Regions from separate parts of the Homo sapiens genome. Here regions 2, 3, 4, 5, 6 and 7 are each linked to region 1. Evidence: promoter capture Hi-C in human tissues and cell types (Jung and others, 2019). All regions are on one chromosome and are shown on one strand. The core of a region is centred on a gene start or on the middle of the fragment in contact, and the rest is flanking DNA. Distances in the headings are between cores, read along the strand shown. Region 1 holds the start of PRRX1 (paired related homeobox 1). Region 2 has its middle 94 kb from the start of GORAB. Region 3 has its middle 74 kb from the start of GORAB. Region 4 has its middle 70 kb from the start of MROH9. Region 5 overlaps GORAB-AS1 (GORAB antisense RNA 1). Region 6 overlaps GORAB-AS1 (GORAB antisense RNA 1). Region 7 overlaps LOC124904454 (a long non-coding RNA gene).

The links. The method cuts DNA at HindIII sites, captures the fragments that hold promoters and counts their contacts. A contact is called where the count stands out against the background at its distance.
Region 2: a fragment that was not itself captured here is called in contact with the fragment with the promoter of PRRX1 in region 1 in 2 of the 25 tissues and cell types used here (liver and mesendoderm cells).
Region 3: a contact is called between a fragment that was not itself captured here and the fragment with the promoter of PRRX1 in region 1, in 3 of the 25 tissues and cell types used here (H1 embryonic stem cells, aorta and mesendoderm cells).
Region 4: a contact is called between a fragment that was not itself captured here and the fragment with the promoter of PRRX1 in region 1, in 2 of the 25 tissues and cell types used here (aorta and neural progenitor cells).
Region 5: a contact is called between a fragment that was not itself captured here and the fragment with the promoter of PRRX1 in region 1, in 1 of the 25 tissues and cell types used here (H1 embryonic stem cells).
Region 6: a contact is called between a fragment that was not itself captured here and the fragment with the promoter of PRRX1 in region 1, in 5 of the 25 tissues and cell types used here (H1 embryonic stem cells, liver, mesendoderm cells and 2 more).
Region 7: a fragment that was not itself captured here is called in contact with the fragment with the promoter of PRRX1 in region 1 in 2 of the 25 tissues and cell types used here (aorta and ovary).

The regions. Positions count from the first base shown.
Region 1 is chr1:170,661,747-170,665,922 of GRCh38, forward strand. PRRX1 (paired related homeobox 1) reads left to right here and starts at 2,385. Exons shown (of 4, transcript NM_022716.4): 1 at 2,385-2,713. The coding sequence starts at 2,473. RefSeq lists enhancers at 1,290-1,817, 3,018-3,878. The HindIII fragment of the contact is 17,405 bases long and covers 1-4,176 here.
Region 2 is chr1:170,436,001-170,440,176 of GRCh38, forward strand. No RefSeq gene overlaps it. Among named protein-coding and RNA genes, the nearest start is that of GORAB, 94 kb to the right of the region's middle. The HindIII fragment of the contact is 7,035 bases long and covers 1-4,176 here.
Region 3 is chr1:170,456,488-170,460,663 of GRCh38, forward strand. No RefSeq gene overlaps it. Among named protein-coding and RNA genes, the nearest start is that of GORAB, 74 kb to the right of the region's middle. The HindIII fragment of the contact is 6,792 bases long and covers 1-4,176 here.
Region 4 is chr1:170,863,920-170,868,095 of GRCh38, forward strand. No RefSeq gene overlaps it. Among named protein-coding and RNA genes, the nearest start is that of MROH9, 70 kb to the right of the region's middle. The HindIII fragment of the contact is 3,866 bases long and covers 514-4,176 here.
Region 5 is chr1:170,474,542-170,478,717 of GRCh38, forward strand. The region is part of intron 1 of GORAB-AS1 (GORAB antisense RNA 1); the gene reads right to left. Among named protein-coding and RNA genes, the nearest start is that of GORAB, 56 kb to the right of the region's middle. The HindIII fragment of the contact is 4,040 bases long and covers 374-4,176 here.
Region 6 is chr1:170,494,474-170,498,649 of GRCh38, forward strand. The region is part of intron 1 of GORAB-AS1 (GORAB antisense RNA 1); the gene reads right to left. Among named protein-coding and RNA genes, the nearest start is that of GORAB, 36 kb to the right of the region's middle. The HindIII fragment of the contact is 9,877 bases long and covers 1-4,176 here.
Region 7 is chr1:170,808,264-170,812,439 of GRCh38, forward strand. The region is part of intron 1 of LOC124904454 (a long non-coding RNA gene); the gene reads right to left. Among named protein-coding and RNA genes, the nearest start is that of MROH9, 130 kb to the right of the region's middle. The HindIII fragment of the contact is 4,513 bases long and covers 1-4,108 here.

The DNA.
Region 1 (4,176 bases), core at 1,135-3,634:
GTCTCCTCCATCCCAGTTCCTTAATTAAATGCATGGAAAGAACCGAGGCGAGCACATCTGGTTTCAATCTACAGCCCTTTGATGGCATCAAATGTTCTTTTCCCAGATCAGGGCTGGAAGTTCTGGGCTAACTATGGCCGTTTGGAGCCCAGAAACCATTTACACACACTCGTACCCTTCTTTCTCTCCAGTCGAGCCTCTTGACTATAGGACGAAAAAAAAAAAAAGTCTAGCAATCAAGGGAGTGCGGGAGTACGGATGCGTGTGTGTGTGTGTGAGTGCGCGTTTAAAGAACATAAAACGCCACAAATAAGCACTTAATATTTTACTGAGTCGTCATACAGTAACTCATTTCTAATGAGACTGTTAAAGCTGTTACCAAATTCCAACAGGTCATGAAAAAACTGCTCAGCACCTCTCTGTCTTCTGTCAGGTTAGGGCTCCGCAGACGGACGACAGAGGATTATCCGTAGACTTAGATGGGGGTTCCTCCGCCCCTCTCTGTCCTCCTGCCACCACAGCCAGGCTGGACGCAGAACCGCACGGAAGCCTCCCCAACTCCTGCCTCTGGGAGTGCTCCTGCCTGCTTCAAGGAATCTGGGCAGCGGGACCCTCTGGGTTTAGCGTCCTCGCCTGGGGAAGCAACTTTGGCCTTACCGTAGAAGTTACAAAATTGGCGGGGGTAGGGAGAAAGATTATAATATATATTTGGAGTCCTTTCTTCCAGTTTAATAAACACGTACTTTTCTCATTGCCCTAGTCCTGGTATGCCTAATGGCGGGGAAAGCCTCAAATAAACTCGGTGCCCTCTGGATCTCCCCAACCTGCCTTTAGTCCTTGCGAGAGGCGTGAGAGAACTTCCTATTATCATCCCTTTTGTTATTTTTATTACATTATTTAATAGGCTCCCTCTACGGAACCAAAAATAGCCTTAATATGCTTACTTTCTCCCTGTACTCCGCCCCAAACTGTTAGAACAGCAGAAAATTTTTTTTTGGGGGGGGGCGGTTTGGGGGAAGGCAGAAGGAGAAGAAAATTTGATTGTGATGGTGGTGGATTTTTTCCAAATTTCCCCACAGCTGTTATCAAAACATGCAAATGAGATTTTCCAACAGGATCTTAAACAAATCTGGAGGAGTTAATGCCGAAGCAAAATAATCAGCACGTTTGAAGTGACTGTGAGTTTCAGTTTGTCTTTTCTCCCCGTGATATTATTGCAGGGGAATGATAATTAGACCTTTAGAAATCCAAAGGGGCTCTCTTGCTCTCTTCCCTCTCTCATTTCTCTTCTCTCTTTCTCTCTCTCTCTCTCTCCCTTCCTCCCTCCCTCCCTCCCTCTCTCCCTCCCTCTCTCTTGTTCCCTCCCTCTCCCTTTCTCTCTAACTCTGATGTTGGCAAAGGGGGTTTTCTTAATCAGACTGTTTTTTGGTCCCAGGGAAAGGAGGAAGAAGGAGATTGTGATGGAGAAAGGGGGTCTGTGAAACGTCAGGCACAGCACAAAGGCTTTGCCACGTAATTACAGGCTCCTATTAAGTCGAGATCTGCCCTCCCAGGGGTCTCCAATTTTCTTGTATTCCCTACAAAGCCTCCTCTGCATGCCAGTTTGTGCCTTTTGAAGTGCCAGAGAGCTTCTTGATCCAACTGAGAAGGAAAAAGGAGCCCAGCAAGAAGAGGGGGAGAGAGAGAAGGGGAAAGGGGGGAACCCACCAGCACCCTCCGTCGGACTCTTGAAGCCTTTTTTTTTTAATTCTTAATTTTTTTTTTTACTCTTTACAAAAAGTAAAGTGAGAATCCTGCTCTCTAATACATCTGCAAGACATCACCCTCTCCTCCTGAAACTTTAGTCACTCCTGAGAATCCACAGGAGTGCAGAGAGGGGGGAACACGTTTTCTTGAAGATGTTTTAAAGCTGGAACAAGCCTTCTTCTGTTGGTGCTTGAACTCTTGCCTGGGAATAACTTTTTTAACCTTTAAAAAAACCATTCACTTTGATTCTTCTCTCCCACCCCTTCTTCTCTCTTCTTCTGTTTGCCTAACTCCCCCGCCCTGCTGGCCTCCGCTTTCCTCTCTCCCCCTTGTTATTATTTTTAGTCTGTGCGTGTGGACACTTTTGGAGAGTTGGAAGGGATTTTTTTCTCCTGACTTGAACATAGGGTGACTTTTTAATATTGTATTTTACTGTGGATTATCTCTTTGGACCGCGCCGGACTTGGCCTCAGGAAATCAACCAATGCTGCGGAAGGCGGCTGGTGCACAACGCTCTGCTCTACAGAAGGGGGTCCCCCACCCTCTTTTCCAATTTTTTTTTTTTGGCCTTCCTCTCCTTCCCTCCCTCTTCCTCCCTCTCTCTCTCTCTCTCTCCACTACCCCCCTCTTTCTTCCCCACTCGGCTCCTCTCCCCCCTCGCGCCCACAGCGTTTGGTGTTGATTCGAGCGGGAAGAGGGGGGTGGGTGGGATCGGTGGGGGAGACCATGACCTCCAGCTACGGGCACGTTCTGGAGCGGCAACCGGCGCTGGGCGGCCGCTTGGACAGCCCGGGCAACCTCGACACCCTGCAGGCGAAAAAGAACTTCTCCGTCAGTCACCTGCTAGACCTGGAGGAAGCCGGGGACATGGTGGCGGCACAGGCGGATGAGAACGTGGGCGAGGCTGGCCGGAGCCTGCTGGAGTCGCCGGGACTCACCAGCGGCAGCGACACCCCGCAGCAGGACAGTGAGTGAGGGGCGCATGCCCACGGGGGTGTGTGCCCGGGACAGAGGGCGGGGACCCGTGTAGGGCAGCTAGAGCCCGTCCGCGGCCAGAAAGACAAGGTCCTGGGACCAGGAGAGGTGATGGCAGACTTCAAAGGAAGGGCCAGTCACAGGGGAAACCAGATGAGAAAAGCGGGTCTCGGCCGAGGGCATAGCCAAGGAGGACGCTGGAGAGAGGCTCCAAGGTCCGGGGACACTCCGAGGCCCTGCGGTCTCAGGCAGGGACTCTGTCCGCGGCGGACTCTCTTTACTTCGGCTAGGCACCGGCTCGGTTCATCCCGCACGCGGGGCGGCGGGGCTGGGCTGGGAAAAGGTCTTAGCGGGGTGCAAACTCAGAGAGCCAGCGCTGTTTGGGAAAGCAGCAGGTTAAAGATGCTGAGTCGGGTTGGAAGGGCTTCTCTCGGGCAGCGTATGACGGCTTGAGGGAGGGCACCAGGCACAGGGAGCAGGACTTGGCGCTGCTCAGGCTGCACTCTCCACGCGGGCACCGTAAGGCCGGGCGCGACCGGGAGGCCCCGAGAGAACGCCCGGCCCCAGACGCTGGAGCTGCTCTCTGCCCCCTGCTGTTGCCTCTACCGCAAATGGGTTTGAGACTGGCAGAGTCAAAAGCCCGGCTGGCTTGGGAAAACTCGGGCCAAGCAAAGGGAATGTCCTTTAAGGGTGAAACCTGAAATCCAGCCCCGCATGATCCCGCACAGGCGAGCTGCATCCGGGAGGCGCGAGCTTCAGTGCGGAGGCCAGTGTCACCTTAGAGGAGCTCTCCCTATTGGCTCTTAAACGCCCAGAAAAGTCCAGTTTCCCTTCCCCATCCTCACCGACCAACCTCGCGACCCATGAAAATCTCGCTTCGCTAGTGCCTTAAAAAGAGACTGCAATTGTATCCCCATGCCCCCAAGTCTGTAACAGACCGGTCACCCTGTTCATCCCAGGTGACATGTGGCCAGATATGTACAGATACTCCCTCTTCTCCTCGAGGTTGCAAGAGTCTGAACTTAGCTGTAAGTTCTCAAATGAGGCTGGTTGCTTTCTATGTCAGTAGTTGCTGGTTACCATTTTTGTCTTCAAATTTGGAAATCGTGGAACCGGGGGGCCCTCCAGCATTCTATGATTTTCACAAAACGTTGCCTATTTCAGACTCTCAAAGAATAGACATACAAATCAAACTGCACATAGAAACAATTGGAAACAGGGTCCGGGCACAGTGGTGGCCCCGCGGGCCACGCTACAGCAAGCCGCAGAGAGAGCCTCTGGTGTGCTCAAGACGCCTGGTCTTCACCCTGCTTCCTTAGTTCCGGCCTGGGCGCCCCTGGGTGTTTTTAGCCAAAAGCGGCCTAGGGCCGATCCACCCAATGCATTAGCAGACTGCTACAGGAACTGAATGAGGAAGTCTGGCCTGGACACCAGAGAAAGGTGGCCAACTCTGAG
Region 2 (4,176 bases), core at 789-3,288, 230 kb before region 1:
CCTTTGTCTGCCCCTCTTCTCTCCACCTACCTCCTTCCCCAACCCTCAACACATACCTAGTCTTACTTTCTGCTTCCAGTGGGCCATTGAATGAGAAAATGAATTATTAGAATTGTGTGTAAGAGTAAATAGGATTCTGAGAAGTCGGAATCAGATTCACAAAGTGTTTGACAAACATTCAAATTTCTCATCAGAAGTCACTCGGAGCTGAGATGCTTCCTATCTTTTATGCAGCAATATTCCGAATAGTTACTTTACTAAATGAGTCATTTCTCTGAAATCAAATCTGTAGTTGGATCCAGGTTTTCTATTTGCTGAATGAAAAACCTTGGGTAAGCCACCTAACTACCCTCTGAGCCTCAGTTTTCTCATTTGCAAAATGAAGTTTCCTAAAACTACTTCTTCCTCTAGACCATAAGCCTACTAAAGGTTAGGGCCATGTTTTATATATTTTTGCATATCTATTGCCTAATGTAGTATTTGGATTATAAAAGATGTTCAATACTGTAAAAAAGTCAGTAAATGAATGAGAATCTCAGAAAAAATGTAAGCATTTTAATAAGTAGCAAAACTACATGCAAATGAAGTAAACAGTAAACAATGTCAAGCAACAAATGGTACTCCGAGCTCTATTTTTAGAGAGGGAATACAATTGATTCTGTGAGGCATTTGCTATAAGGTAAAAGAATGAGGTCATGTGGGAAAAGGCTAGAGTGCTACCTGAAGGTACATATTGAGCCAGCACACTCCTGAGTATATTTCCCATTTCTCCAAATACCGTGTGTGGTAAGCTGAACCATGGCCCCCCAAGATGCCTTCATCCTAATCTCTGGTGCCTGTGAATATTATCTTATATGGCAAAAGAGACTTTGCAGGTGTGATTAAATTAAATATCTTGAGATAAAGATGTTATGCTGGATTATCCAAGTGGGCCCAGTGTAATCATAGGGATTCTTTTAAGAGGGAGGCAGGAGATGAGGGAGACCGAAGGTGATATGATAACAGATGAAGAAAGATAGGGAGAAAGGGATTTGAAGATACTATGCAGCTGGCTTTGAAGACACAGGAACATGGCCATGAACCCAAGGATGTAAATGGCCTCTAGAAGGTGGAAGAGACCAAGAAATGAATTCTCCCCTAGAGTCTCCAGAAAGAACCAATCCTGCTGGCACCTTGACTTTAACCCAATTAAAATTTATTTCAAACTTCTGGCTTCCAGAACGATCATAAATCTTCATTGTGTTTGTGGTAATTTGTTACAATGGCAATAGGAAACTAACGTGCATGTTTTCACATAGAATTTAAAAGAGAAATCATGAAAATTTCATTAAAAATAAAGATAAATATATGTGACTCTCTTGCCAGCGTACTACAAATGCCAGTTGGTTTTAGCAAATGCAGTTATTTGACTGAGGATAATTTTGAGAGAGAAGACACTTTGGAAGTGGAATAAAAATTATTCTTCATATTTTAGGGTAGAGGAAACATAATTAGGTAATGGATAAAACTCGCCAGGGCACACTCAAATAGAAAGTTTCTTGCCTTTTTTCACTACCTCCTCATGGGATCAGGTGATTCTCTCCTACAGTGCACTTTGGGACAACAACCCTTTTCCTTTATCCTTCACACATTCTCTTATTCTCTAACAGGCCATCTCAAAACTGTTTAGGTGGCAAGGACATTAATGACCATTTTGTTATACAAATTATACCTTTGTAAGTAGACAGCATTTCACAACTTAGCATACTAATCAGGTTCTCCCAGCCCCCTCTAATTCAGTTCCACTCTGCTGGACTATGCCATTTTTAATCCTACCCCTCTGTACTGAACACTAGACAAATCCTTGAGTTGGTGGAAGATGAATGAAAGAAAACATGATGAACCAACCGAAGCAGAAAAAGTGATCAAAGAGCACCCCAGGCCTAAAAAATCAAGGTCCTCTCTATAGACCCAATTTAAAGTACGTGATTCAAAATTGTTGTTGCTCAAAATGACCGAGCTAGTCTCAAGAGCTTTGCTAATGACTTTGCCATCTGGGAAGGCAGAGAACTTAAAAGATAATTATTTTAGGGGTGAGGGACTAGCACAAGATTACAAGAATATCAAATGTAAATGAAAAGCTTTGGCCATAGCAAACACTGACAAACTGTCCACAGGAATAGCTTACCTAAAATCCAATTAAAACAGTAAGGCCCCTTATTTAATTGCCCTTAAATAGGAAGTCCAACCCCTAAAATGTATGCCTAAGGGCGACAGAACTCTTCACTGAAACTTCTCCTGTAAGGAACCGCAAATCACTCTACGGATCCCAGAGCAAGGACATCATCTAGTGTATGAGCTTCCCTCTAGAACTCACTTATACTGGGAAATGGATTGGGATGGTGAAGTAGCTTTGAAAACCCCTGCTTACTGTGGTAAACACTTAAGCTGGTTAGGATACAGTCAGGACTACTTACCCCTCACAAGGAGACAACCAGAGAGGTTTAAATAAGCTCTTTCAAATACATTAAGGACCCACAAGCCTCAATAGAAAGTAAAAAAGACAACATGCAGAATTTTTGCTATCTGTTCCTTGAAATGATAAAGTGAAAGTTACTCCTTTTATAATAATTTAGATGCAGGTCAACTCCATGGTATCAAGTCATGAACATTCTGTAATTCTGTAGAAACTACAAAAAATGAAGGAATATTGACCTGAACTTTTTTGGTGGGGAGCGGTGTTTCTTTAATTCTTCTTAGCACCTCTTTAAGAAATTTTCCTTCTCTATTCAATCTGTTTCATGGGTGAGGCTGGTGAATAAGAATCATTTGCTTCATTGCTCTAGTAAGCCTGTGTTTAAGGGATGATGTCTAATCTGGTGTATACGCTAGAGTAGTACAAATATTTGGAGTCATTATAAGTTGTTCAAACCCTCTCAGCATCTGCTATATTGCTTTTAAATATAATGTGTAACAACACTTGCACTTCCTACCTAGGCAGAATAATAAGGACAATATTTACCATTTTCTATGGAAAAACCAATATAACCAGTCAAAATATATGAAACAATATTTTTTAAGATACTGGATATTAAGGAACAGAGAAAAAGGGTCCCACAGATACAGAAAATGAGTAAGGTGAGCCCTACAATTACCTCAGATTTCTGCCTTGTGATGATTGCCAGTCCATAGCACATGAAGAGAAAATCCAGGTAGAGTTGAGGGGACTCCCTGAGTTGAAGAGACAAAGCTAAGAGTCCAGGGAGACCAACGTAGCTACAGTTCACAAGACAGAGAACCAGGAAGTACATAGCTGCACAAAGGAAGAAGTCCAAGGACTAGCAAAGTGTCCCCCTTGAGTATTCATTAGAGTACTGATCAGTGCATGCATGTAAAGAAACCAACCAAGCTAGGGAAACAACTACTGGAAAAGTTTAATGATAATAGTACGTGGCAATTACACAGGACCTGGAAGAGTATCTGCCCTTATCACCATAGGAAAATGTGAAAATTCACAATGAATTAAGAAGAGTACACAGGATAGTCTTACCTCTGTGGAATAATTAGTAATAGATCAAATAATACTCTGGTCCCATGTAACAAATCTTAAAAGTCGTATGCAAGAAGATAAACTGTTTCTAAGTAACATAACTGCATGCCAAAAGAAAGCTCAAATCTACTTAGAAGAATTCAAAAAATATCCAGTACCCAGAAAAGTAAAATTCACAATGTCTGGCACCCAATCAAAAATTATCAGGAATGCAAAGAAGCAGGAAAATTCAATCCATGGTAAGGAGAAAAAGCAGTATATTGAAATTGACACAGAACTGACACACATGTTTGAATTAGCAGACAAGGATATGAAAACATTTACTGTAACTGCATTCCATATGTTCAGAGAATTATGTAAAAACATAAAAGAAATTTCTAAAAACCTAATCAAACTTCTAGTGGTGAAAACAAAAATGTCTGATAATAAATACACTGGATGAAATTAGCAGCAGATAGGACCTTACAGAAAGAAATACAAGTGAATTTGAATACACATCAGTGAGCTATGGAGCAACTTCAATCAGCCTAATGTAGATGTATCTGAAAGAGAGAAAAGGAAATGCAAAAGAGATACTTGAAGAAATAATGGTCATTTAAAAAACTGATGAAAAATGTAAACCCAAATATCCAAGAAGCTCAATTAAT
Region 3 (4,176 bases), core at 708-3,207, 210 kb before region 1:
TCAACCTTGGTGAATCTGATGATGATGTGTCCTGTGGTTGCTCTTCTCAAGGAGTATCTTAGTGGTGTTCTTTGTATTTCCTGAATTTGGATGTTGGCCTGTCTTGCTAGGTTGAAGAAGTTCTCCTGAATAATATCCTGAAGAGTGTTTTCCAACTTGGTTCCATTCTCTCAGTCACTTTCAGGTACAACAATAATACGTAGGTTTGGTCTTTTTACATAATCCCATATTTCTTGGAGGCTTTGTTCATTCCTTTTCATTCTTTTTTCTCTAATCTTGTCTTCATGCTTTATTTCATTAAGTTGATCTTCAATCTCTGATATTCTTTCTTTTGCATGATCAATTTGGCTATTGATACTTGTGTATGCTTCACAAAGTTCTCATGCTAAGGTTTTCAGCTCCATCAAGTCATTTATGTTCTTCTCTAAACTGGTTATTCTGGTTAACAATTCCTCTAACCTTTTTTCAAGGTTCTTAGCTTCCTTGCATTTGGTTAGAACATGCTTCTTTAGCTTGGAGGAATTTCTTATTACTCACCTTCTGAAGCCTACTTCTGTCAGTTCGTCAAACTCATTCTCCATCCAGCTTTGCTCTCTTGCTGGCGAGGAGTTGTGATCCTTTGGAGGAGAAGAGGCATTCTGGTTTTTGGAATTTTCAACCTTTTTACACTGGTTTTTCTTCATCTTTGTGGATTTATCTAGCTTTGGTCTTTGATGTTGGTGACCTTCGGATGGGGTTTTTCTTTGGACGTCCTTTTTGTTGATGTTCATGCTATTCCTTTCTGTGTGTTAGTTTTCCTTCTAACAGTCAGGCCTCTGCTGCAGGTCTGCTGGAGTTTGCTGGAGGTCCACTCCATACCCTGTTTGCCTGGGTATCACCAGCAGAGGCTGCAGAACAGCAAAGACTGCTGTCTGTTCCTTCCTCTGGAAACTTCATCCTAGAGGGGTACCTGCCAGATGCCAGCCAGAGCTCTCCTGTATAAGGTGTCCGCTGACCCCTGCTGGTAGGTGTCTCCCAGTCAGGAGGCATGGGGATCAGGGACCCACTTAAGGATGCAGTCTATCTCTTAGCAGAGCTTGAGCACTGTGCTAAGACATCCACTTCTCTCTCTAGAGCTTGCAGGCAGGAATGTTTAAGTCTGCTGAAGCTGTGCCCATAGCCACCCCTTCCCCCAGGTGCTCTGTCCCAGGGAGATGGGAGTTTAACTATAAGCCCCTGAGTGGGGCTACTGCCTTTATTTCAGAGGTGCTCTGCCCAGAGAGGAGGAATCTAGAGAGGCAGTCTGGCTACAGCAGCTTTGACGAGCTGCTGAAATTTACTCAGCATTTCAAGTTGTTTGCAGTTCTAACTTCCAGGCAGCTTTGTTTACACTGTGAGGGGTAAACCGCCTACTCAAGCCTCAGTAATGTTCGACGCCCCTCCCCCCACCAAGCTTGAGCATCCCAGGTCTACTTCAGACTGCTGTGCTGGCAGCAAGAATTTCAAGCCAGTGGATCTTAGATTTCTGGGCTCCATGGGGGTGGGATATGCTGAGCTAGACCACCCATCTCCCTGGCTTCAGCCCCCTTTCCAGGAGAGTGAACAGTTCTGTCTAGCTGCTATTCCAGGCGCCACTGGGGCATTAAAAAAAAAAAAAAAAAAAAAAAACTCCTGCAGCTAGCTTGGTGTCTGCCCAAACGGCTGCACAGTTTTGTGCTTGAAACCCAGAGCCCTGGTGGCATAGGCACCCAAGGGAATCTCCTGTCTGCTGGTAACAAAGAGCATGGGAAAAGCACAGTATCTGGGCCAGAGTGCATCGTTCCTCATGACACAGTCCCTCATGGCTCCCTTGGCTAGGGGAGGGAGTTCTCCAACCCCTTGCACTTCCCGGGTGAGGTGACACCCCACCCTGCTTCATCTAACCCTCCATGGGCTGCACCCACTGTCTAATCAGTCCCAATGAGATAAGCTGGGTGCCTCCATTGGAAATGCAGAAATCACCCGCCTTCTGCATTGATCTCGCTGGGAGCTGCAGACTGGAGCTGTGCCTATTCAGCCATCTTGCCAGCCACCCTCTCTCTTTGTTTTTTAGGAGCTTTATTATGATGTTCCTTTATTATGGTGTGGTTTACTTCATAGTTTTCTATGTGGAATTCATAACTCTTCTTGAATCTATGTGTTGATGTTTTTCAGCAGTTTTGGAAAATTATCAGCCATTGTCTCTTCCAATATTGCTTCTTCCCCATTCTCTCTCTTTTTCTTCTTCTAAAATTGTGATTACACATTTGATAGATATTTTCATTATTTCCTATATGTCTCTTATCCTCTGTGCTTTCCTTTACTTTGTTTCTCTATACTTTTTTCTGAATATTTTCACTGACTTATCTTCTAATTTACTAATTCTATTTTTGGCTGTGTCTAATTGGCTCTTAAACCCACACACTGATTTTTAAATTGACTTTTAAATTCAGTTATTGCATTTCTACTCTAGAATTCCAATTTCATTGTTTTTCTAGATTCCAGTTCTATACAATTCTCTTCATGTTGTCCTTTTAGTTAGAATATTTATCAAAGTTATTTAAAGGTCCATGTCTGCTAACTCTAATAAATGTCTCTCCTATAGGTCTGTTTTATTTTATTTTTTCCTGTTTTTTTTTCTCTTAAGTTTTTAGCATTTGCCATTGCCTCCTAGAAGGTGTGGTAATATTTTATTAAATGCTAACATTGTATATGAAATATTTTAGCAATACCTTTATGCTTTTGATGATGTTATCTCCCTCCATAGAGTATTTATTTTGTTTTCAGTGTATTATTAGCCTAGGAAGATTGCTTTAATATAACAAGGGATTAAACTGATATGACAGTTTGTTTCAGTCACTGGAAGGACTTATTCTGTTCATTATTAATTCCAATTTGTATCCCTTTAGGGATCCCAACTGAAAACCTGGTTGTTTACCAGGTCCCTGACACATTCACAAATTCTAATATCTAATTTTTGTCCCCTCGGTCCCATGGAACTGCCAAAAGCAGCCCTCAGTTTCTCAATTTTGTTGACCTGGATAGGAAAGGTAGCACCAATTTTCAGGCTCCTCTCCTGGTTCTTTTGTCATCTTGACAATCTTGAACTCTCAATTTTTGACTGGCTTATACCTCTCCAATGTCATCAAAATGATTTTTAAAATGTATCCAGCATTTCAAGTTGTATTTCCTGAGTAGACTTCTAAAAGCATAATTTCTTGGTTAAAGTTACAGACATTTTAAAACTCTAAAATATTTTTGCCCTATTGTCTCCAGAAATATTTGGCTATCTATATTCTAATAATTAGGCTTAGTTTTAAGTGACTATCAATAACTTTCCATTTTTTTAATTTGAGAAAAACATGAAAATATTTTTATGTGGAAAAGATTTTTCTCCACCTATACAGCCATAAAATTTTATTAATGGAATTTTTACTTTATTCTTCACTCACAGCAAAAGATCTCTTTGGGCCTGATTCAAAATATATTAAACTTCACTCATAAAGATATTTTATTCCAAGGAACATGTTTCCATTTATATCGAACAGGGAGTTCCCATGAAATTCATGTTGTAACCTTAAATGCAATTGCTTCAATAATTGCTGAAATAAAGGTCTGGTAGGCAAAGCCTAGGAAGCAGAAAAGTAACTTAAAGTTTTGCACATGGTCTGACATTTCAAACATACATGGGTGGCATGACACTTTCCATGCATCTTCTGTTGCCACCCATTAGGAATGCACCTAATTGACCATGTTAATAAGGGTCCATATGTGGCTTGGTTCAGCTCATGAGAGGTAGAAAAACTCAAGTTCTACACTTTGTAATGACAGAAACAAATGCTGTGTGGCCTCTTAAGAAAGCTACAATAATACGAGGTGGTTTAGGGCACCTCAACCAGAGAGGCTAACTTCAAATTACCAGACACATCTATTATGAAGTGTTGAAAGGAAAAAGAAAAACAAATAATAAAGTTACAAAATAAAGTTTATTTTATCAAAATTAAAACGGCTTCCTTCCCTCCACTTCAGAGTAACCTTGAGATGGAACAGTCTGAGGATTACATTGCTATAATCCCTTAGCAGTTAGTTCCACAGCAGGAGGTGCCTGCTACAGACAAAATTATAGGGTTAGGAATGTTCACAATTCAGTGACCCGATTGGCTGACTATTCCTTAGAGC
Region 4 (4,176 bases), core at 1,197-3,696, 200 kb after region 1:
CTGGCCCTGTATTCTGGAAGAGCCACCTGTAAGGCTGAAAACACCCTACCTATAATTGCAGCACTTTGTGGATTGTCAAATGAAGCTATTTCCCTTGCAATTATTAAAAATTCTAGGCTCATCTTAAATACTGGATTATGGTTTGTGTTGGACATTGGACATTTGGGGGTGCCCAGAGGTTGTAGTCCATCTGGAGACTTCCTGGTCTGTATGTTGTGTCATTTTGATTTCTTGTTGAAGGGCCATGGAGACTTAGAATGGGCGTCCTCAGGAGATTCAAAGGAGCTTTCTGCCAATTCAATCAACTATAGCTCTGACTTAGCTTGTTTCCAAAATTGTAGGCACTGTTGCTCCAAAATTAATATTTTTGAATATTCAACACATCCCTGAGGAAGAGCAAAGACCTCCCACCTTTGTTTCTTTGCAAAACAAGTCAAGATGAAGTCTTTGCTGATGAAACTCTTGGCTCCCTCTCTTCCAGCTGCACTTCACCCCTGTGGCTTTCCTGCTTGGAAATCTCAAAATAGTCACAGCGGCTTGCCTCCAAGCTAGAATTGACCTCGCCTGTCTGGATGCCTTCCAAAAGGGATTTTTATGAAAATATTATTTTTTTCTCTTCTGAGACTTTTTTTTATTAGAACCCATGCAAAGCTGTATCATTCCCCATTTGCCATTATTTTCAACTTCCGAAGTCTTTTTTATTTTTCTTACTTCATCAAGGACATGTGTTTCCTTCTCCGTACCTAATAACAGTTTCTGAGAGGAACCTGTGGAAGAGAAAAGCATGATGTACTGATCATGAAAGTGGGAAGACATTTGGGATAATAATAGGAAAATATTTGAAACCCTGAAAAGAACTGTCCCTCCATCCAGTAATCAATTCTCCCTTGGCTTCTCCCAGTGGTAACTTAGTTACCCTTTACTTTTCACACACATAACAAAATTACTGCTGTTGACAAAGTCTAGATAACAAGGAGTCAGTCCTACTATGAGTACCTTAATAGTTCTGCCAAGTGGGCCTCATTCCCAAGTTCCCTGACAGAATACCATGGCTGTGTTAACTAAGAGTAAAGGCTTACTACCTTCTACTGGAATTATCTGGTTTGTTCAGCTGCATCCCCTGTTATACTATGAGCTCCTGAAAAGCCAGAACTGTGCCTTATTCACCTCTCTGCTCCCAGCCCTCATCACAATGCTGACATGTAGACAGTACACAATGAATGTTGAAGGAATGGTAATGAGATCTATAGTCAAAACACCAAAGATGCAGCCCTTCATGGCTTTCTAAGTGTTAGAGAGAGAGTCACTTAACCTTTACAAACCTCCTTTTCATCTGGAAAGTGAAAGTAATATTACTACTTTCTTCAGGCGTTAATCAAGGCTTAGATGAAATAATTGTATGTGAAAATGATTTGCTAACTATAAAGAGCTGTGCAAATGTTTACTGTGATTGTACAGGCCCAGGGCAAGAGGGCTAATTACTCCCCTTTCTTCTTATTCAACTCTCAATTCAGGAAGGTTAGGGCTCAAGAAAGACAGAATATTCTACCACTGACGATAATATGTACCAGTTTTTTGAGTATAGATATGTCACCCTTTTGAGCCTCTATTTTACCCTCTGGGAGTTGAGGACATTCTGTGAGATAGACATAAGATCTAAGACACTGCTTTGCCCATTGTAAACACTTAGGAAAAGATCACAGAGGGAAGTCAAAATAGTGTTGTGAAGCCAATAGACTTTGAAGTCAGGCAGACATGAGTTAGTTCAAAGCTCTGCTCTGCCGTGAAATAGGAGGGTGATCTTGGGCAAGTTACTTCTATTTTTAAACCTCAGTTTATGCAGCTATAAAATAGGTTAATATTAATACCACCTGCATGAGATTGGTGTGATCATTACAGGAAATAATGGACACAAACTGACAAGCACATGTTGAGCACATGATAGGCAAGGTAGTTCCTTGTTTCTCCTTCCCTGAAATCAACAGGCTGTCATCCTCCCAGACTTGACTTTTCCTGACAGAGCACTACAACTTCAAACAACCTAAACAACAGAAAAGAAAGGTTGAGCCCTGCTCATCCTCCAAGAGAAATTCATATGCTAGGCTTAGGTTTCCAGAAGTACCCTTCTCACTACCCCCTTCTCACTAGCCTTATCTGTGTATTTCATCTGATGTCAGCTACACTGCTTCCCTTTGGAACAAATTCCAACATCTGAAATTATTAATGGCTCCACCAATCTAAATACCATTTTAGTAAACACCCTTATTTTGCAGAGTCCAACTCTTTTGTGGCTATGAAATATCCCTTACTGATTCCGGTCAGATTTCAGGTTGATGGCCAGGGTTTATAGCCAGGTGGATGGGAAACACTGCTGGTGGCAAATGGCACACCTTCCTCCAAGTTTCATTTCTGCAGATGGTTCCAGGAGCTGCCATGGATGCCAGGCCTGCCTCCTCTGCCTGGGCATCTTACTCTGCTGTCTGAGGCTCTTGTACTCACTAACCTTTAGTTTCCAGTCAACAATTTTCATATGCTTCAATTGCAGTCAAAGGCATCATTTTTCCAAATCGTTTGCCTTAGATTACTTGCAGCAGGTTGACCCAAGAGGTGATTGCTTAAACCATATTTTCCTTGCACCTATACGCCAACATTCCATATACCTGTTAATTATGTAATACAGCGCTTAAGAAAAGGACCACTGGGATTTTCACCTACTGGTTTCTAGAATATTAAGAGGCTTAATTTTTAAGCAAGTTAAAAATTTGCAAGTTAAAACTTCCATGAACTTTATTAAAACTTTCATTAACTTGCAGAATTCTCATTCTCCAATGTGAGAATTCTTGTGAGCCTGCCACATATTGTCTGTCTCCCTGTAGAACTGGGGAGAGCACGTCTGGGAAGGCAGAAGTGCAAGCTCATTGTGCTGTGGCTGTTGCTGGGACACAAAGGTGGCATCATAAACACTGATTATTTATTATCCTAATATAGTTCCAAGGACTGTATTAGCTCCTATTTGGACCCTTAATAAGAAATGGAAAGGAATGTGTATGGACTCAATCACATTTTCCCCTTAATGGAGAAGAAGCTCACCTAAGACCAAGCTTACCTTGGAGGTCAAGACCATGTGCCCTCGGTTGACAATGCCAAATGTTTATTGTATTACATGACACCTACATCTGTTCCCATCAGGAATCAGCACACTTCTCTAACAAATAGGCTGTGCATTTTATCTAGTATACTTTCTGTTAACACAAAGACCTGTTATGTAAAAACTGCATTTTTTCCCCCAAAGTTATCCACCCCCCACCTCTTGAAGATCAAATTTACATCCAATCTTTTCCACTCATATGATAGGCTATTATCTGTTAGTTTCCCAAGTTGAAGGAAAGAAAAATGTCAGCCTTTTTCTTGGCCATCAGCAATGCTGTAAAGAGTAGTCTTGGTGGGCAAGTGGAGAGATACACCTCACCCCTTTTACCTATCTCAGTATCCTGCTTCTCCTCTGTCCATGTATACAAAGGCAGATGAGAAGATGACTATCTATCCCTTTCTATCCTCGTCTTAATGCCTACATTTTGATTGTGAATTATGAATAACTGAAGCTTTGTTCATAAACCCAAGATCTGTAGGCATTTCAAGGACAGATTTGACAATAAATGTGAAGAGAGAATAGTCTGTAACTCCTGCCGTGGTGTTATCTCGGCTTTCTCTGGTTCGTATCTATTTTTAGGCTTTTTTTTGTCCCAAGTCTTTGCCTCCAGTCTCTGCTTTCTATTGGATGGTGAAATTATGATAGAATAACAAAGTAATTGCTAAAGTTTATTAAGCACAAGTGTGTGATATGCTCTATGCTTAGCACTGTATTATCCAACTTAATACTCACAAGGTGGGCACTATTATTATACCTATTTTACTTAAGAGGAAAGGAGATTTTCAGAAATCAAGTATTAGGCAGCTAATACATGAGTAAGTCATCAAGACGGTGACCAGAGTTGCTACCATTAAGACTTCTTCAAATCCACTGCTCCCTTCCACTGCTGGCTAACAACAAGCAGTGGAGGAGAGATGGATGGCAGGGCAGGAACAGTGGTGCTGGGAAGGTTTGTTTTGAATGATTAGAAAGAAGGTTATGGGATAGATTTTCCTTATGTGTGAAATATCTTATGTGTGTCATGT
Region 5 (4,176 bases), core at 1,144-3,643, 190 kb before region 1:
ATTCAAGCAGCTATAATAAATAGGATCATGAAGTTAGTAAAGCATGAACATAAGAACAAGAGAAATCTAAACTAAAGAAGAGTGAAACTGAACTTCTAAAACTGAAGTTCATGTCCAGAACTTCACTAGACTGGAATAGCAGCCAATTAGACATTACAGAAGAAAAGATCAATGAATTTGAAGACATAGCAAGAGAAACTATCCAAACTATAGCACACAGAGAAAAAAAGCTAAAGAAAAAGATGAGACTCAGTGACTGTGGAACAATATCACATAGTTTAACATACATGTAAATGGATTCCCAGGAGAAAAACTATTTGAATACATAAAATCAGAAGTTTCCCAATTTGATGAAAACTATAACCCATATATCAAAAATGCCCATGCATTCAAGAAGCAAAATAAAAACAAAAAGAACCACAGGAAGTCCTATCATTATCAAATTACTGAAAATCTGTAATAAAAAGAAAATATTAAAAGCAGCCAGAAATAAAGAGACACATTAAATTCAGAGAAACAAATGTAAGAATGATTAATGACTTCTCAGAAATAAAAAAGCAAGAATACAATGAAACAGCGCCTTAAAAGTGCTGGATATAAAAAGTGTCAACCTAGAAGCTAATATACAGAAAAAATATCCATCAAACATGGACATGACCTAAAAGCATTTAAATACAAACAAAAGCTGAGAGAATTTGTCACTAGAAAACATGAATTAAAAGAAATGTGTTTGGAAGTTCTTTAGGACCAAAGGAATATCAGATGGAAACTTGGATTTATAACAAAAATGAAAAGCCCTGAAAATGCTATATGTGGATAAATATGAGAAATCTTTATTTAACTGTAATTTACTTTACTTTTTAAAATCTGTTTAGAACAGTAACAACAATGTATTGAAGGCTAATGTGTGTAAAAATATAATCTATGACAATATTAGCACAATTATGACATAATTTTATGCAAATAAAGTTGTATGGTAGTAAGAGTCTTACATTATACATGAAGTAGTATATTATTTGAAGGCAGACTTAAAGAAGTTAAAGATGCTTATTATAAAACTTGAGTAATCACTACAAAAAAAGACCACATTGATAATAAGCAAAAAAAAGGAAATAGAATATTTAAATATACTCAATTAAGACCCAAAAAGCCATGAAAATGGTAAAAATATATAAACAGGAAAAATGAAGAAATATTTAGGATAGTAAACAAATATGATGAAAGGATTAAACTTAACTGTATTGATAATTACACTCAATAATTATCAATTATCAATTGATAATTACACTGTTTAGATGACCTAAACATCTCAATTAAAAGGCAGAGATTGTCACATTGGATAAAAAAGCAAAACACAACTCTATGTTTTCTAAAAAAAAAAAAACACCTTAAATATAAGAATATACAGAGGTTAAGAGTGAAAGAATAGAAAAAGATACCACAGAAACACTAAAGAGAAAGCTTATATGGCTATATTAATATCAGGCAAAATGTAGTTCAGAACAAGGAATACTATCAGGAATAACAAGGCCATTTCATAATGACAAAAGAGCCAATTCATCGAAAAGATGTAACAATCCTAAATGTGTATGCACTTTATAATACAGCTTAAAAAATACGTAAAATAAAAACTAATAAAAATGACAGGAGAAATAGAAAAGCCCACAATTATAGTTGGATGTAATAACACATCTCTCCTAGTAATAAAACAGGTTGACAGAAAATCAGTCTAGAAAACTTGAACATTATCAACCAATGTGACACCTAATTGACATATACCAACAATGGCAGGATAGACTTTTTTCACATGCAAATTGGACATTTACCAAGATAGACCATATGCTGAGACATAAAACAAGTCTAAATAAGTTGAATGGATTCAAATCATATGTAGTATGCCCTCTGACCTCAACAAATTTAAATAAGAAACTAATAACACAAAGACATATGAAAAATCTCCATATTCTTAGAAATTAAACAATATACTTCTCAATAACCCATGAATGAAAGAAAAAAATCTAAAGGCAAATAAGATAATATTTCAAATTGTATGAAAACGAAAACACAACATATCAAAATTTATGGGATACAGCTAAGTGATTGCCTGAAGATAAATTTATAGTTTTAATGCTTGTATTAGAAAAGAATATGTAATATCAGTGATCTGAGTTTTCATTCTAAGAAGCTAGAAATCAATTATACTATTAAGCATAAAATAGAAAAAAAGAAAATAATAAAGGCAAGAGCAAAACTCAATGGAATAGAGAAGAAAAAAATCAGAGAAAAACCAAATATCTAAAAGATACTTATTTTTAAAAGATCAATAAAATATAGACATCTGGCTAGACTGACCAAGAAGACAAACTTTTTAAAACATAACAGGGAAAAAACAATACATTTGACTTTATCAAAAAATTTTTTTAACTCTCCAAAAGAGAAAATTAGGAAATTAAAATGCAAGCCATAGACAGGGATGTGGGGGGATATCTGTAATACATATATTTGATAAAAGGCTTGTATCCAAAATATATACATATAAAATTTTTGCAACTCTATAATAAGAAAAGAAGCAACCCAATTTTTTGAAAATGGGCAAAAGATTTGACCAATTGCTTGCAAAAGAAAATGTATAAATGGTAAATAAATAGGGGGAAAGATGGTCCATATAATCTGTAATCAAGGAAATACAAAAATCAAGCCCACAATGAGATATTACTAGACAGGCATTTAGAATGGCTTAAAGGTATTTAAACTGTCAGTATTCATTGTTGTTATGAATAAAAAGTAAGGGAAATTTTTATACATTGATGATGGAAGTGTAAAAGATGCATCATTTTGGAAAAGAGTTTAGCAATATGTGTCAAATTAAAGTATGCTTACCGTTTGGCCCAGTGATTTCATTTCTTGGTATTTACCCATGAAAACGGAAAACATATATTCACAAAAAAAATCTGTATACAAATGCTCATAACGGCTTTATTCATGATGGTTCCAACCTGGAAAAAACCTAAAGTTCCATTAACAGATAAAAGGCTAAACAAACTACGAATGCTACTTAGCCAAAGGAACAAAAAAAAAAAGAAAGAAAGAAATGAACTGCTGACATATGCAACAGCAAGGCTAAGGTTCAACAATATTATGTTGACTTAAGAAAGTTAAAAACAAAACAGTACATACTGTTATACTGTATGTGTATTCCATTATACTGTTACACATTGCATTATATGACATCTAGAATAGGCAAGACATACATAGTGACAGAAAGAAGGTCAGTAGATACTTCACTGAGTAAAGGAAGGGATGCTGACAGCAAATGGGCATAAGGGAAATTTTGGGGGTGATAAAAATATTCTTTATCAATTCAAGTGATTGTTATATGAGTTTATATGTTTGCCAATACTTATTAATTGTTCACCTAATATATGTGCATTTTATTGTATGTCATTTATATTCCAATGATGCTGATTTTAAAGAAAAATCTATTTAAAAGTCTATAAATCTGTCATCCAATTTTGTTATAATTACTCCTAATTTTATCAAATTTCTAATTCATATTCAAGATTTTTTCTATGTATTATTTGATGCCTGTTTCTCTACCTGTACCATTTATAAGCACTTGATGCATACCATCAGTAATTATTTGCAGAAATTTTCTAGCTTAATGATCCCTATGATCCTTTATTATTTTAATAAAAATTTGTCTTATAGTTTGGTATTTAGATTTTCAGTTTATCATTTTTAGAAATAACATTCCAGTCATCACCTCTACACATAAAGCTTTGTCCACACTTGTATCAGTTCCTTGTGAAAGATTTCTAGAAAGCAATATTGGCTTAGGTTACAGGATACAGGAAGAAGTTATTTATATGCGGCCCCTACTTTTCTAGAATTTTACTTATAAAAATTCTGCTTAAAAGATGAGCCACAAGGACAAACTAATACTATGATTCTTATTTCAAGATGATTTGCTTGGAAGTTATATTTTAATTAATTAGCCCATTAGAAATTGGGGCAAGATGTCTGGGCACAGTGGCTCACGCCTGTAATCCAAGCACTTTGCATCATTGTCAGATGCAAAGTTTGCAAATATTTTGTCCTATTCTGTAGGCTGTCTGTTTAGTCTGTTGATAGTGTCTTTTGCTGTACAGAAACTCTTTAGTTTAGTTAGGTCCCATT
Region 6 (4,176 bases), core at 1,179-3,678, 170 kb before region 1:
AAATCCTGAGGTCTCCAGCACTTACTTGCCTCCTCCCTCCAATATATCTGGCTCCCATCCCACAGCCTCTACCACACTGGCTCAGGAAGTAGGCAATTTCCTGCCTTGGCTGAGCCGGATATTAAGACCTCTTTGTTCCCTTATCTCTGAGAAATAACACCCCTCTGAAATACTCCAATAGCTGACTGATTCATGCTTAGACTTACCTAAAGGACTCTCTGCTGTTCTTTAATATTAGTGTTGGCTGAGGCAGAGCAATTCACCCACATTCTAATCGTAAAATGTCGTGGGGTGATATGGAGCACACTGGATAATTATAGTTCGTAGACTGTCTAATATTAGAATAAAGAAGATTTTTTAAAGAACTATTAAGCTAGGGGATCTTCCTCTCTGCTCCCACCTCCCCTCACTGACCCATCCACAAACAAACCCATTTATGTCCGTTTGCATTTATAAAAGCATCCTTTCTCATACAAGACATCTTAAATAGATTCATTCATATTGGTACAGACTAAACTGAAATTTCTAGGCTGTATAACACAGGCAATTTGATTATTCTCCTTGGAGGCAATACATACAGAAATAACAACTGCTGACAACTTCTTGGTACCTCCCAATGTATAGAGACACATGACATATCGATCTATACAAATAGCCTGTGTTCTCTATTTGACTGATGGTTAGTAATACCATCTGCACATCCACAGCTTGTCCAGTTTCCAGGTTTCTTCCATTTAGTGGAATGTTCTTAATACAATATTCCTATTCAACACTTCAAAGCCCTTTCAAAACATTTCACTTTTCATGTAATGCATGCCCTACATTCCAGCTTCTTCTGTTTGGAGTTCTGATACGAGGAAAAGCTAAAAACAATACATCATGATGACCAAGCACAGAAAATGCAATTTAGAAGTAAAAATGAAGGGAACAAAATCTTCCCTCTTCCTTCACTGGCAAGGTTAAATGAACCAAAGTATTCTAGAACTAAGAAATTTTAAAGACCATTTAGTCTCACCAGCTCATTTTACAAGTGGGGGAACTAGGCTCTGGGTGATGAACAACATTTTAGGTTGTGGAATGGAGTAAGCTCCAGGTAAAAGAAACAACATCTGCGTAGACGCCGGGATGCTGATTGTGCCACCAGAGGAAGACTTTGACTAGATGGGCTATCAGGAAGAATAGAACAAAAGATTAAATAAGTAGAGTTGAACACATTTACAAAGGATGTTGGAATTTCCATTTGCAATTTGTGGGTCAATGTTCTACTTTCATGAAAATGTAGACATTGAATCATATAGGTTAGATTTGGAAAAGAACTCAGGATCTCAGCTCTTATTTCTTTCCTTCATAATACTTTATTTAGTTGTAATTTTGTATTAATTTAACTTTAAAATCTTTGTCATTCACTAGTTTGTAATCTTCATAGCATCTGGCACAGTTGACAGGCATACAGTAAGTACTCCAAAACTATCTGTTGAATGAATGAGATCATCTGAGTTAGCTTTCTACATAGAGATGGCATCCTTTCTTATAGTTTCCTGAACAGTTGACTCTGTGGTCTCTCTGAAAATACTCAGTGATGAAGTCTGGCTATCACCAAGGCCCCTGTCAGGCCATCCTTACTGAGAAGGCGGTAACTTCTTTTGGAAGAGGGAGAACAGACTTTAAGTTACCCGGACAGTCTAGGTCCAAGAACATCAGAATATTGAATGTTTCTATGTTTCTGGTAGGCAATAGTGTTTAATTAAGATACAAGGAAATGAAATATGTGAGGACCTTTTTGTACTTATTCAAAAAGTTCTATAGAATTAGGCATTACTGGCCAGGCGCAGTGGCTCAGACCTGTAATTCCAGTACTTCGGGAGGCCAAGGCGGGCGGATAACCTGAGGTCAGGAGTTCGAGACCAGACTGCCCAACACGGTGAAACCCCACCTCTACTAAAAATACAAAAATAGCCAGGTATGGTGGCACATGCCTGTAATCCAAGCTACCTGGGAGGCTGAGGCAGGAGAATCGCTTGAACCCAGGAGGCGGAGGTTACAGTGAGCCGAGATTGTGCCACTGCACTCTAGCCTGGGTGACAGAGCAAGATTCCATTAAAAAAAAAAAAAGGCATTACTAGACACATTTCACATATGAGGTAACTGAGGCTAAGCTTTAAGTACTTTATTCAAGGCAACACAACACACCGCAGTGAAATTAATTTGAAATTGGGTTTGGCTTTGAGGATCAGGTTCTTCCTAACTGGCTACACTGCCTCTATTAAAAAATATAAACAGAATTGCTACCCTCAATGACACACAATCTAGCTGGAGAGATAGATTTGGAAACATCCTTTATAGTATTTATCACCGGTATATAAAACACACTAAGCACAGAGATGCAAGCTGTTAGTTCTTCCTGGAGTTTGGAAATGTCATGAAAGGTTTTACCAAAGAGGTGCCTCCTGACATGAGTTGTGAAGGTGATTGTCAGGTGGAATCAACCAGACTCAACCAAAAGAGTTTCTCAGAGGAAGGAGTCCAAGAACTCAATGCTGCCAGATTTCCTCATTGGGGCATAATATGTTCCAATTAGGCTGGGGACACACCTAAGTTGATATGCAATAATTTCAGTGGTATTTTTATCAGATTTTGCTTGCTTGCTATGTGAGTACCCCTTCAACTACACCCCCTCACCCTACATGCACACACACACACACATATAGAAAGAGAGAGAGAGCAACTATCACCACCATATACGTCCCATTGCCATGACTAAATAAATTGCCTCAATGCCTTTTCTACTACACTTGCTGTCTCTGACCATTAATAGATAAGGTACTCAGTTTATGTAAATATAAGAGTGTAGCTAAAGGAATTTTAAATTCCAGACATGGTCAATTTAGCTACCTTAAATGCTGCAGTGACTAGCCTGCACCAAACTTTTAGAATAGGGAGTAAATACAGACTAGGCAACAGTAGAGAAATTTCCTGGACTTCTCAAGTTCATGATGGAAATTGGTGAATGTCTTCGACAATTTGCTCTTAATGCAGATGGAATCAGTCTCTCATGGAAACAGATAACTTCCTTCACATTTATTGCATGTGAAAAAACTGTGTCTGGCTTTAAGGCAGTCATGGACCATCTTACTCTCTTCCTTAGCAGAAACTCAACAGAGAATTTAAAATTAAAACTCCAGCTTGTTCATCACACAGATAACCATACAATACAAACAAGCTAAAAATAAATCAAATTTGCTGTATTATAGTATTCAAATTTGAATATAGTATTTGAATATGGTATTCAAATACTACATGTCCTTGGAAGAAAACATTACATTTTAAATTTCTTCCATGCAACACAAAATGATACAGCAGCTGATAAAGCAGAAAGTAAATGTGTATCCAGGATGCACTGGATGTAACACCCACTTTTATAGCTCATCAAGGATACTGAGGCTGAGGGTGGAATGTGTCAGGGATTTTGGTACAATCCCCTGCCACCAGGTTAAGAAAAATATTGAAAAATGATGGTGGGAAGTGATATGGATAGTGTGTGGAAAAGAGTCTAATTTGAGAAAGGACATGATTTCCTTAGTCTTGAACTTGATAGGCCTCAAATTCCCAACACTCCATGGTTTATACAACTGGATAGTCTTAATGAGGTCATGGAAGATGATGTGGAAGTGGCATTAAATCTTTACAATGAGTCCTTAGACAGCAAGTGTTGCTGCTACTGAGGAGAGTCCAAAGGGTTTGCTAATACATAGAACTCTAACATGTACAAAGGGGCCAAATATAGTTTTGAAAAAGAGACCCTAAAAATGGGAACCATAGCAGTGAAGTCTTAAAGAAGATGCCAAAAGCACTGACCTACATAATTAAGTGATGTCAGGAAAAAGGATAAAGCAGATGCTTTTAGAAAAAAATCATTATTTCTCGATTCACAGAAAGACACAGAAGGGGATTAGCCCAGGATGAGAAAGTTGAGAAGACTATGCCTTAACAGCATGGTCTCTCTTTCAGGTTGTCACACTTCCTCTCTTAGGGAAAACAGTCTTGGAACATTAGAACCATAATGAATATTAGAAATAATCTATGCCAACCCCTTATAATATAGCTGGGGAAACTGAGGCACCACAGGTAGTGATTAATTCAAGGTTGCACAGCTAGTAACAGGACACCCAGAACTAG
Region 7 (4,176 bases), core at 602-3,101, 150 kb after region 1:
GGAAGAACCATGGCACCATCTGGTTCTTGGAAAAATAGGCACGCGTTTACTTTACACTTGAAAAGGAAGCTTTTCTGCTCTGAATTGTACTGTTTCAAGTTGATAAACCTGTTTCTGAAGGGCACATGTTGCTTTCTTTATTGGATGCTTATAGTGACACATTCCTGTTTGTGGGGGAGCTGCACAGGGTAGGCAGGGGAGGTGAAGACTCAGAGGAGAGACAGGGAGGAGGGGTTCCCAAATGTCTTGATATGAAAAATAGGAAACAGTTCCTTTTTGAAAACCTGTAAGTTAACCAGCAGTAGCAACAACGATGAACTGTCATGCAGAAGACTGGCTGAGGTTTGGGTTATAAAACAATATTTGCCATCAAGAGGGTTTTAGTATTCCAGTTTGCAGCAGGAGTGGCTTGTGGCCAGGCTCAGCCTTGCTAGAGAAGCTCAGAGGGTTTTCTTATAAGTCCCAAACTATTTAAAAAACAGACTCAAACACAGTGATATCTCACTTATCCAGCCCCTTGCAAAACAGATGTTCCACAGAAACACATTTCTAGATGATATTTAGGTTTATGTTATAATTTAATAAAGCTTGCAAAATAATTTTGTTCATTTGTTTTTCTTATTTCAGTCTGATCCTTATAACAACCCACGGAATACAGCATGGGAGGCTTTATTAATCTCACTGACTTGCCCACACAACAGAGGTAGCATAATTGGTTTTTGCCTTGCTCCCCATGGCTCTCAGACTTCTGACCCTAGGTATATCTCAGAAACTTTTTCAATATATTAAAGACAGGATAATTTGTGAAATCCTACTAGTATTCACTCCTAGGAAAAAGAAGACTGAAACCAGAATTGCGTTGAATATAATAAGGGTTTTAAGTATCTTTTTAATATTTTAAATATTTAAAATACCTTTAAATAGTGCCAAGTACTATTAGGTACTGTCAAAGAACAAAGGAAGATCCTGGACTTAAGGAATCTCTGGGATGAGGTCAATGTGGTGGCTGGGATGGTGCTGGGCCAGGGGGCAGGGAGTCTGGGAGGCAGGCCATTTCTAGAAGGGCCACGCAGGAAGGAAAGACAAAAAGCGGGGGCTGGATGTGGGGCAGACATCAGCCTGAGAGGGTGGGCAGAGTATAATGGGGTCCTTAGCAAGACAACGCCTGAGCTGGGCAAGGCAAGGTGAGATTATGTGGAGAGCCACCCACTACCACCATGTTAGCAGTTTCTTCATGTATGGGATCATCCTGTCCAGCCCAGTCTCAAAGAGACCATTCCCAGTGCTTCTGGGGTTTTAAGAAGGTAATAATGGAATGACAGGCATGGCCACTAATGGATGTTTTATTATCCTAAGTTTACCCAGGAATTTCTTATTTCCTATGACCCTGTTATCAAATTTCATCAGCTTTTGCAAAAATGAAATGTTTATCCTACTGGAATTTTTTGGAGATCTCACACTTTATAATATTTGCAATGCCCTTGTTAGGAAGTATGTAAATCCTATTCTATTAAGTTTTTAAAGTTGAAGCTCAGATAATCCATTGCCCAGGGTCTTCTGCTGAAAGGACGAAAGGAAGTACTGTATCAGACTCCAAAATCAGCATTATCCCAAAGCTAAATGTCTACTCAGAAGGAGAAATAGAAGCATCCTTTGACCACCAAAGGAAGTCCCTTCCTTCACCCTTGGTATATTTCTCCTACTAGTAAAGGGATCCATTTCTGCCTGCTCCTGAGGCTTCTTTCCAGCCTTGCCTTCTGTGCCTTTCCATGGCTGCAGGTTCTATTCTTGAATTAACTTGACTCAGTCAGTTCCAGGGTTGGCCAAAGGAGTACTCACCATTTGTTCTGGGTTCCCAGCTACTTCCTGCAGTTAATTCCTAGAGAAGTTGCGGCTTTGGGAGCCTGAGGTTCTTGTTTTTGATCCTGAGTCTATAATAGCACCTCACTCTTCATCATACCCTCCTAGCCCTTATAATCACCAGGAGATTTATCACTGTCCCAGTCTACACTGGAGGTTTCATTCTGGGCCCCCTTCTGAGAAGTTCTGTAGTTTTTCCAGGTCTTTTCTTCAGCTTCTGCCTTTTCCTTCTCCAGTCAGTGGGGTTCCTCCCCCTAACCCAACCCAGTGGCTAGGGCTGAATATTGACTGCAAGTCAGTCTGGCTTTCTAGGATCAGAGTATCATCTGGGGCCAGGATTCCTTGCTCCTGGGTCCTATTCATCTGCCAGACTCCTGCTCCATCATGTTGGTTCCCAGTGCCAACCATGTGCCTGAAAATTGACTGAAAACCACAATAATGTTTAGCCATGATGAGCCACCTCTCAGCTCTGCTGCTGTCAAGTCATCATCTGTTCACTGCCACCCTGGGCCTTCTGATAGCTCCTACCATACTGGACTACTTACAAATCCTAAGAGAAAACAATCTTTCTGGGTTATTTAAGCCATCTCTCAAGTATCTTCTTAAAAAGTAGAAAGACAGGATGTCCGTTCTAAGATGGCTGAATAGGAATAGCTCTCGTCTGCAGCTCCCAGCATGATCCATGCAGAAGATGGGTGATTTCTGCATTTCCAACTGAGGTACCTGGTTCATCTCATTGGGACTGGTTGGACAGTGGGTGCAGCCCATGGAGGGTGAGCCAAAGCAGGGCGGGGCATCGCCTCACCTGGGAAGCACAAGGGGTCGGGAGATTTCCCTTTCCTAGCCAAAGGAAGCCATGACAGACTGTACCTGGAAAAACGGGACACTCCCACCCAAATACTGCACTTTTCCCAAGGTCTTAACAACTGGTAGACCAGGAGATTCTCTTCCGTGCCTGGCTCGGCGGGTCCCATGCCCACGGAGCCTTACTCACTGCTAGCACAGCAGTCTGAGATTGAACTGCAAGGCTGCAGCCTGGCAGGGGGAGGGGTGTCCACCATTGCTAAGGCTTGAGTAGCTCACAGTGTAAACAAAGAGGCCGGAAATCATGAACTGGGTGGGTGGAGCCCACCGCAGCTCAGCAAGGCCTACTGCCTCTACAGACTGCACCTCTGTGGGCAGGGCATAGCTGAACAAAAGCCAGCAGACAACTTCTGCAGACTTAAACGTCCCTGTCTGACAGCTCTGAAGAGAGCACTGGTTCCCCAGTATGGCATTTGAGCTCTGAGAACAGACAGACTGCCTCCTCAACTGGGTCCCTGACCCCCATGTAGCCTAACTGGGAGATACCTCCCAGTAGGGGCCAACAGACACCTCATACAGGGCGGTGCCCCTCTGGGACAAAGATACCAGAGGAAGGATCAGGCAGCAATATTTGCTGTTCTGCAATATTTGCTGTTCTGCAGCCTCTGCTGGTGATACCCAGGCAAACAGTGTCCGGAGTGGACCTCCAGCAAACTCTAACAGACCTGCAGCTGAGGGACCTGACTGTTAGAAGGAAAACTAACAAGCAGAAAGGAATAGCATCAACATCAAGAAAAAGGACATCTACACCAAAACCCCATCTGTAGGTCACCAACATCAAAGACCAAAAGTAGATAAACCAGAGCAGAAAAGCTGAAAATTCTAAAAAACAGAGTGCCTCTTCTCCTTCAAAGGATCGCAGCTCCTTGCCAGCAACGGAACAAAGCTGGATGGAGAATGACTTTGACAAGTTGACAGAAGTAGGCTTTAGAAGGTCAGTAATAACAAACTTCTCTGAGCTAAAGGAGCATGTTCTAACCCATCACAAGGAAGCTAAAAACCTTGAAAAAAGGTTAGACAAATGGCAAACTAGAATAAACAGTGTAGAGAAGACCTTAAATGACCTGATGGAGCTGAAAACCATGGCGTGAGAACGTCGTGAGGCATGCACAAGCTTCAATAGCTGATTACATCAAGTGGAAGAAAGGGTATCAGTGATTGAAGATCAAATTAATGAAATAAAGTGATAAGACAAGATTAGAGAAAAAAAGTAAAAAGAACAAACAAAGCATCCAAGAAATATGAGACTATGTGAAAACACCAAATCTACATTTGATTGGTGCACCTGAAAGTGACGGGGAGCATGGAACCAAGTTGGAAATCACTCTTCAGGATATTATCCAGGAAAACTTCCCCAACCTAGCAAGGCAGGCCAGTATTCAAATTCAGCAAATACAGAGAACACCACAAAGATACTCCTCGAGAAGAGCAACCCCAAGACACATAATAGTC